Regions from separate parts of the Homo sapiens genome. Here region 1 is linked to region 2. The links are contacts of gene promoters, found by promoter capture Hi-C in human tissues and cell types (Jung and others, 2019). All regions are on one chromosome and are shown on one strand. The core of a region is centred on a gene start or on the middle of the fragment in contact, and the rest is flanking DNA. Distances in the headings are between cores, read along the strand shown.

Region 1 (4,658 bases), core at 177-2,676, 160 kb after region 2:
GAAGGTTCTAGGGTTGTGATTCATCAAGCCAACAGTTAGAACTGTCATAGTTTTCCTGTCCCTCTCTGTCCCTGAGTGATCTTGGGCAGGTTGGTTCTCACCTGCCTTGATGGTCTGTGGATCTCATAGCATTAAGTGTGGCTCAGATTTCTCCCTCCCTTCTTTCCCCCACCCTCTCTCCGCCCCACCCTGAGGTCAGCCTGAAGGCAGCCCCCTAGCCCCACCCCAGGCCTAGTGGGAGACTCAGACACACCAGGGGTGTGGGTAGGCGAGGGCCATGACCCCAGAAGGCTGTTTGGGGTCCAGAGGGAGCCCAGAGGGGCCCTGTCTTCCCTGCCTGAGGCAGGGTGGGATCCGGCATGTCTCAGAGATATGAGTATTAGCCAGGCCCACCAAGCTGGGGTGGGGGGGTATTGACAGTAATAAGGAGGTGGTTTCTGTTCTGAAGGGTGAAACTCTGAAGGCCCTAGTGCTGGTGTGGTGGTAACAGCAGTAAAAATTTTAGCACCACCAACAACTGGCATTTTGTTTTGAAGGTGGAAGTGTCAACAGGTCTCTACCATGGCTTCCTTTGAAAAACACACATACACACACACACACACACACACATACACCCACCCCCCCACACACTCACACACACCCATACACACACACACACACACACACACACACACACACACACACAGCCTTCTTCGGAGGCCTTGGCCCTTTTTCTCAAGGAATCCCCAGCTTGGGCGTTAATCCCTCAAGAGTCACCAAGAGTTAACTCTTGAGAAGCTCGTTTATTCATTTTTACCCTATGTAGTTCTACAGGCAGCCTCCAAAAATGCATAGTGTGTAACAGGGCTGAACAAAAAGTGGCGGAGATCAGGGGAAAGAAAAAAAGGGGATCATGAAATAGAAATTAACAAGTTGAAGTTGAGGCCAGTGCTTGCCTAGGGGCAGGGGAGGAACGTGTCCACCTCTGTCCCAGGTGGCCTGTGTGAGGGAGAGGGGCTGGGGGAAGAGATTCCTGCACTGTTCCCCATGGGGCTGCCTGCGGGCACATGCCTCTCCCCAGCACCACCCCCACTGACACGCTCCAGCCGCCACGCCCTCTCCATCACAAATGTGGCCACAGCTCCTGGTCTTGTCCGGGTCAGCCTCAGAAGTAGCAAACTCCCCGTGTTGACTTCCTGTTAGGGGAACGAGGATTCCATCCTTTGAGTCCTAAACCTCTGAAACAGCATGGGCCCCTGCTCCCTGGCTCTGCCCAGAGTTGTCAGAGATTCAGAGAATCGTCTCTCAGTTTTGCTCAAGAGCCTGAACACTACCGCTTTCCTACTAAAGGCTAAAAATAAATTTTGAAGCAATAAAGGTGATCACAGTAGAGACAGTTCTCCACTTACAATGGCTCGACTTTACTGTGGGTTTACTGGGGCATGGTAAGTTGAGGAGTAAATGTGTTACTTTGTAAGGAGGGCAAAGATTGTAGGCACAGGGTTTTTGGAGGCCAGGGGATTGATTCTGTTGGGTTTCTAGTCTCCTCTGGATGACATCACCAACCTGAAATCCCTTACCTGTGTCATAACAAAGGACACTTTGTGTAATTTTCTTAGATACTCACATCTTTACCACTCTATTCTGGAAAAAAATACCCATTTAGGCCTTGCCGTTAACATGTCTGATCTCAGGCCTGAAGATCTCTTAGAGACTCAGTTTCCCTTTCTGTACAATGAGTGGGTTTGACTGATACTCATGCTGAGCTGGTATCTTTTATCCTGTATTTATATAACATGGTCACCTCTTTAGGGTGCTAACATTTTATGAGACCTCTTTAAGGTGCTAAAGTCTCATGATATCATCCAGTAACTCTACCCCATGAAGGGACATTTTATTACTCATTAGGCATCAATGTCAGGTTCAGCAAGTCTTATCTTGATGCTGACCCTTGGGAACTGCACCTTTCTGCTTTCCACCGTTCAGAGGAGTTGATACACTGTGATTTTCAGTGAAGGGGGACCACAGGTCCCCTTCACCTGTGGTCTTTTCTTGTTGCTGTTTTGTGGAGTGGTTTCCATCCACCCCCTACTCCCTCGAAATTAGGGTTAAAACGCAATGGCATAAGGCACTGATATAGATTAAAACACACACACACACACACACACACACACACACACACACAAAATGATTGTCATAAAGAAAATCATTCCAGTCCTGTGAGTTTGGGATTATATTTTCCCCAGACATTTACTGTGTTTATAGAGAAAAATAAATATCTCTGTAAACATGTGTTGTATTTACAGTGAAAATAAATATCTAAATAAATATTAAGCTTTTAAAATTGGAGCACTCGCAGAAGGAAATGCAAATGGATGTGAGCGAGGGCTGCCTCACTTGGGGCGTGCATGCCTGGATTCGCACTGAATTGGGGTGCGTTTGTCTTTCTTTCCAGCTCGGAGTGCAGAGCCATGCTTCAGGGAGGGGAAATGAACATTTATGGAGCACCCACTATGGGCTCGACACTTTACAAAGAGAGCTTCATTTTATCACCACCCGGCTCTGGGTGGCAAGGAGTATCTGTGTTACTTTGTAAAGAGGGCAAAGATTGTGGGCACAGCGTTTTCGGAGGATTCTGTTGGTTTCTAGTCTCCTCTGGATGACATCACCAATCTGAAGTCCCTTGCTTGTATCATAACAAAGTGTCCTTTGTTATTTTCTCAGATAGAGAAAATAGATGAGGAAACTGCAGCTCAGAGAGGTGAAGCGACTTGTCCAAAATGACAGTTACCAGTTGGGGTAGCTGGATGTTGTTCTCACCCAGAATGAAAGAGCAAGTTATGGAACAAATCTGTACATGGCTGCTGGTGCTAAGACTTTTCTAAATCCAGGACCAGGGTTAGAAAAGCCAGGAGCTATGGCAGTTGTCAGCACGTGGCACCTCCAGACACAGAAACGAAAGGGTCTGCGGTGGAGTCCTTTTTCCTCTACTCCCTCCGGGAGGGCCTGGCTGCTCACGCATTTACGCCTCTCTCCAAACACTGGGTCCTTCACTGGAAACTCCTCTGAAGGACAGCAAGCCTCCTGCACCCCGCCAGGAGAGCTCTTTCCTGGAGATCAATCTGCAGAGAGCAGGCTCATTGTGAGCCATTGTGAGCCAGAGCAGGCTGCAGCTGGGCCTCATCTGTGCATTTGTGTTTTACAAGCAGGCGTCTTGGTGGGAGATGGGTTTTGCAGATCAGTGTAATATAGAAGCAAACACTTGAGGATGGGAGGGAGAGCACGTTTCTCACTTTAGGGGTTTGCTTCCAGGACTTCCTTTTTTGGAAGTATGTTCTTTTTCTCTCTCATACACACTTGTGTGTACACACACATACACACACACACACACACACACATACACACATGCACACACATTCCACCCCACAGCCTGTTCCTCAGGCTGCAGCTTCCCCAAGGAAGGCGAGTGCCCCGAGCCTGCTCCTAGCTGAGCCTGCGCAAGGCCATCAGCCAGTCTTGTCTGGGTCGAAAAGGTCTCGTTGGCTGTGTGATGCAACTTGCAGTGAACTGAGGGTGACTGTGGGCGTCACAGCAGCGTCTCAGAAGGCCCTGTTCAGCCCTGTCTGGGACCTGTATATAACGGAACTCAGTCTCACCTCTGCAGAATAGGAATGGCGGTGCCCATCTTCCTCTTTCTTGTGGCTACTCTGAGGGTTAAGTGAAGTCATCGATGAAAATACGCTTTAGAAATGAGGTTTGTACAGCGAGTGTAAAGGCAGGCTGTTTTTCTAACTGGTGTCCAAGCCAGGTGTGGACCTGCAGTAAAATGCAAATGACCCTGTTATGTGGACAGGGGCCATTGTGACAGTGAGCTTTGTTAGGATTGCTGCATCACCCACAAGCCTGTTACTGCTGAGCCCCAACTCCAGCTTCTGATTCCAAGGGCCTGGGAAGGTGCGGAGGATTTGCGTCTCTAGCAGGCTCCCAGGACATGCAGAGGCTGCCGGCCGGGGGCCACACTGGGAACTGCTGGGGAAAGTTTGCTTTACTTTGAGTTCTGAGGCAGGCAAGGCAGAAGAGGCAGAATCTCCTGGGGGTGGGAGGGTGGTTACAAAATGAGGCCCCAGCTTGTTTGCAGCCCCCATTGCCTCTTGAATGGTGGATATCCTGGCTGCCTTGCTCTTTTCCCTTCCGGCTCTTTCTTGTTCCTTCTTTAACAGAATATATCCCTTAAACCAGTGCTTCCCAAACTTCAGTGTGCAAAAGAATCAGCCCAGGATCCTGCTAAACTGCCAGCTTCTGAATCCACAGGTCCAGGATGGGGTCTGGGAGTCTTCATTTTAAACACACACCAGGTGATGGCCACTGCTGCAGCTGCTGAGAAGCAAGGACCAAAACAGGCAGTTTCCAAATAGTAAAGTCACTTCTGTTTTGCAAACTCAGATGGCATTTTCTCCATGAAGCTCTCATTACCTAGCTTGGTGACCCTGTGCATAGGATCTGAGAACTCGCTGCCTTGGTTTCCCTTCTGCACCCTAGCGATGTTAACCCTTGGCCCTATGAGGGTTCTGTGGAAGAAACAAGATGAGGGGACAACACCCAGTTCCTTTTAGGCTCTAGATAAACATTATTTGCTGTCTTCTTCTGTCTTTTACTTTCACAGCCCCTGGGTAAAATAG
Region 2 (4,647 bases), core at 98-2,597:
TGGCTAATTTTTTGTATTTTTAGTAGAGACGGGGTTTCACCATGTTGGCCAGGCTGGTCTTGAACTCCTGACCTCAGGTGATCCCCGTGCCTCGGCCTCCCAAAGTGCTAGGATTACAAGCGTGAGCCACCGCGCCCGGCCCAACAGGGCAAATTTAACTGAACTTACAGTACAACCACCCGAAGCTCTGGGAGGATGGCAGAGTGCTCTGACCTTAGACTAGTTACTTAACTTTTTAAAGCATCAGACTTCCCACCTGTAAAAACACGAGAAGAGAACCTTCCTTACAGAGCTGTGAAAGTCCAATAATACAAAGAAAATATAACATCACCTGGCACTTGGTAGAGTGTTCTACAAACGTTAGGAAGAATAAAACCAGAAATTCCCCCCAAGACCCTCTTCGGGTGAGGCCCAGGGGCCCTGGAGAGGGTGGCAGGCCCGGGGGTGTGGGGAGGACACTTTAGCCAGCTGCCCCCAATTCTCCTCCAAGCCTGGCGGCCCAGTTCCGGGCTGTGGTGTGGCTTGAGGGCCCAGGGCTCCTCACTGAGCTTGCTTAAGCAAGTTCTTTCACACACAGCCCCATATACACTTTGGCTAGAAAATTCAATGAGGAGTTTTTTCTTCCTTCTTTCTCTGTTGTTGTTGGGTTCTGATTACTTCCATCTGGCTTCAGCGGCTCGAGTGGAGTCTCTAAAACACACAACACAACAAAACAAAAACCCACCCTGCAAGCCACATGCACCAAACCTAGAAGGCTGCTTCGTTTCTCGCCAGCGTGTGCTCAGATGGCGACGAGGGCTAGCGGCGGCGGGGGACGCCTCAGGACCCCCGGCACCTGCGCTCGCTGCCCGCGGGAAGAGGGTCCGCGTGGACCCAGCCCCCGCGTCCCTTCTCTGGCGTCCCCGGCTTCCGCGCGGGCGTCCAGAGAAGCGGGCGCCCTGGGAACAGCGACCCAGGCATCTCCCCGAGGAGGGAAGTGGGAGGTGGGGAGGGCGGGGGGATTTCAGAGATTGAAAACAGAGCAGCCCTTGCCCCTCAGCTCCGGAGCTCATCTGACTTGAGTTAGCGACACCCCCAACCCCCCCCCCCACACCTAGTCGTCTAAAAAAAGTGTCGGAGATTGGCGCGTCCTTTGGTTCCTTTCTCGAACTTTCCTTGTAGGTGCGTTTTCTTTCCTTGGTGCTGGGTGGGGAGAGTCCCTGTGCTCCCCCTTTCCCCTCCCCCCGCCCCGGCGGCGTTCGGGTCCCCCTGCGTCCCCCGGCAGGGAGCGGGCGGGCTGGCTGGCGGGTTCTTGGGGCCCGGGTGTGCCCGCACCGTGCGCGCGGGGGCGCTGCGCAGTCCGGCGGCGCTGATGGATTGCAGAAGTGCCGGCGCTTGCCAGCCGAGGCAGCACGGCTCCGCGGACTTTTTTTCAAACTCCCATCAATGAGACTTCGAGGAGGAGCGGGCGGCGGCGGCGGCTGCGACTGCGAACGCGGAGGAAGGCCAGGAGCCGCAGGAGGAGCCGGAGGAAAGAGCTTGGGCCGCGCGGCGCGCCGCAGCCTCGGGGAGCCGCCTGCTCGCCGGCGGTAGGGGCTGCGCGGCGCCCGCCCGCCTCTCGGTCCCCTCTCTTGCCTGGCCCGCCCCGCCCCGGCTGGCTGGAGCCCCGGCACAAGGCAGCCAGCCGAGGGTCGCCGCGCCAGCCAAGGTGGGATGGGGGCCCACAGCCACCGCCCGGCGCCCGAGAGGCCACCTGCGTGCTAGAGGCAAACTTTTGTCTCTCTCGGTAAAGTTGCATTGGCCTTCTTTTGCTTGCTTTTCGTGACGAAGCGCCTCCCACCTCGGCCAAGCGCGGGCCGACTGGGATGCTGCGCCGTCTCGGGGGGTCCCTCGGCCGGGTACCGGCGCCTAGGCCTTGGGATCGGGGCCCTGGGCTTCGGGGGACTAGAGGCTAGTAGGCGCGACCCCGCCTGGGGCTCTGGACGAGCAGGGCGGGGACGTAAGGAGAGTCCTGGGGCTTGGAGCTCGTGGCCAGAGGTCGATGTTGCACCCTCTCCCTACCTGGGGGAGAGCACCACTCTTCTCGGGGTGCACAGCGAGCCGGCCTCCGCGCGCCGGCGGGGGTCTGTTTTTTCAGGGGGTGGAGGGTGGGATCGGAGGCTGGGATGCTCCGAAGCTGCCGTAGGTGGGCATGGGAGCGTGTCTGCGGGCGTACTGAGCGCGGAGGGGCTGCAGCCAGCCACTTGAGAACTTCGAACTCCACTTCTCCGCGCTGCGCGTCCCGGAGCCCTGCCTTTCTTTCTTCCTTCCTCAATCCTTCCTCCCCCTCGCCCGGCCCGGCCGCCCCCTCCCCCTCTGCTGGGCTCTCCTCCTCGGCCCCCCCTCTTTGCCTCTCTTCTCCTCCTCTCCTGCCCTCGGCCCTGAGATCCGCTTGACTTCCCAAAGGGATCCGCACGTAATCCTTTGCCGGGTCCTCCGGTTCCCCCTTCCACCTCACTTTCATCCCTGCCCCCCTACTCATCGTCTCTCCCCACCCCCGACAATCTCTCAACAAGTATATTTGCTGAGGAATTTGAAAAATCCACTACTGCAACTTGATCTGTATGTGATGGATGGGGAGAGGCGCGGAGAGAGTTGGGCGCCAATCCTATTAAGGGTTTAGAGAGGGGAGTCTTTTCCCCGGACGGGGCGGGGGCGGGGAGCTGGGAGGGAGCGTGTGCTTGCGTGTGTGAGTGTGAGCGCGCCCGCCGCGCTGGAGAGCTGGGAGTCCACCCAGCTCGGCGCCTTTTCAGCCCGGCGGTAACTGCTGTCATTTCCTAGGAAACCCGACTTTTACCGCGCGGGGAGCTGGGGATGGAGCCCGTGCGCCTCACCCTGGGTGATCGGTCGCTGAGGCTCTCGGGGACCTCGAGCCCCCCCGAGGGTGCCTCTTTCCACTACCTTCTCTTTTGTGTAATTGTTCTGTGGCTCCTAGAGTTGATCCCAGCTGGAAAAGTAGACCTGTCCCTACTGTCTGGTCCCGCGCCCTGGGAGTCTTGTAGGCGTCCCTCTGTCCCCCAGCCCGGGCATCCCGCTCGGTGCGCGACCTCTGGCACGGGCTTTGCAGCTCGGTGGCCGCAGCGGTGTCCCGGGCCCCCTCTCCGCCGCTCTTGCCGGGCGTGTGAAGGTTTAATCCCGACAGCTTCAGATAAAGGGAGCAGTTGTAAAACGCTCATAGGCTGTTTGCAGACGAGGCTCTGGGGGATGTAGGAGAATTTGAAAGTAAACGTTTCCCTCGCAAGCAGCATAAAATAGTGTTTAAACAAATATTGTATTGGCATGCTCAGGGGGCTCGGTGCCAAAAAGTAAAGTAAATAAACTGTGAAATCCAAAATATACAGCGGGGAAAGCGGAGGAATAGGCGGGTTTGTCACAGGCCTCCCTGATGAGACCAGTTTGTTCCAGCCACCTCACCTGCCAGCTTTCTCTCCGCCCATTTCCTTACCTTGCTGGGAGTTCCCTTGGCTGGGTTTCCCTGTGTCTGGGGACAGGCCCTCCCTGGGGCCTGGGAACGGCTTTGCAGTTGCTTGTTTAGGGGGAAGCTCACGGTGTGGCTACCTGGGCCTGACTCCACAGGGACGGGGGGCACCTTGGCTATGCCTGGCTGCTTTGAGTTTGGAGGCTCTTTATTTAGGCTTTTCCCAGCTTCTGGTCTGTCCTGGGGCAGTCATTCTAGAATGTGGAATCCAGATCCATCAGGGGCCTTCTCTTCTTTTTGACTATGCTTCTTGTGCCTCTTTCTTCATCGTTCTTGCTTTTGTTTTCCTAGACTTGCTGCTTCTCTCTTGAGGGTTACAGGAAATTGTGGAGATGTTTTTCCCTGGGATTCGAATTCCACTCAAGCCCAGCCATATGGAAAGTTGTCGCTTGTCTGATGAGTTTTAAAGTTAATTATATTTGGTAAGATTTAGGGTGGTTTTATTTTCTCCTCTGCTTCGAGAAATATGCCAGTTTCACGAAATTGTTTCGTGATTTTAGGGGATTTAAGCTAATACAGGGAAGATCCTGCATTTGAAAGAGCCCAGCTGCCCAGGAGGTATCCCTCAGGTGAACCAGCCTTCAGTTGGGCTAGCATCTGAGTGAGAGACTGTGGTCAGAACGGTCTATTTGCAAAGCCTCTTGGAGAGAATTAGAATTATAGGTAGAAAGAATTAGAATGATAGTAGAAAGAGCCTCCCAAGCCACCGAGGAACAAGGTAAGACTGCTAGAGATGGTTTTATCCTCTGTGGGAATCGATTTGACTGAATTTGCAGTGGGTTCAGATTCCTTCAGCAGAGACTTCCGGGCTGCTCCCAAACTCATTCTGCTCTGGCCTTGAAGGGGACTCTTGACTCGTGGCTTCCTTGAAGCTTGTGTGGAGTTAGCGAGGCCCTTGTGGCCAGGCAGCCTTGGAGTGGAGTGCCACTTCACTCTCCCAGGGATGCTCTGGTCCACTGGTGGAGAGAGCACCGAATGCAGAGTCAATCCTTTGAGTTGCTTGGTCAGAAGAGGGGGCCGCAGGGCTTCTGGTCAGTGGCTCATTGCCTGGCTGCGGGGGTCTTGGGGGCTGTGTACTGTAGCTGGCTTGTTTGCACTGCAGACTGAAAAATACACAAATACTTCACGCTTTTTGTACTCCCACAAGTGCC

The links. Contacts are between HindIII fragments. The study calls those that stand out against the background at their distance.
Region 1: a fragment that was not itself captured here is called in contact with the fragment with the promoter of GLI2 in region 2 in 2 of the 25 tissues and cell types used here (IMR-90 fibroblasts and neural progenitor cells).

The regions. Positions count from the first base shown.
Region 1 is chr2:120,896,053-120,900,710 of GRCh38, forward strand. The region is part of intron 2 of GLI2 (GLI family zinc finger 2); the gene reads left to right. Among named protein-coding and RNA genes, the nearest start is that of GLI2, 160 kb to the left of the region's middle. The HindIII fragment of the contact is 4,519 bases long and covers 1-3,686 here.
Region 2 is chr2:120,734,521-120,739,167 of GRCh38, forward strand. GLI2 (GLI family zinc finger 2) reads left to right here and starts at 1,348. Exons shown (of 14, transcript NM_001374353.1): 1 at 1,348-1,765. It overlaps LOC124906073 (a long non-coding RNA gene), which reads left to right. Exons shown (of 3, transcript XR_007087219.1): 3 at 1-330. It overlaps LOC124907881 (a long non-coding RNA gene), which reads right to left and starts at 3,141. Exons shown (of 2, transcript XR_007087221.1): 1 at 2,041-3,141. RefSeq lists enhancers at 1-624, 1,264-1,433, 2,552-3,052, 3,053-3,553, 3,960-4,647. The HindIII fragment of the contact is 8,822 bases long and covers 1-4,611 here.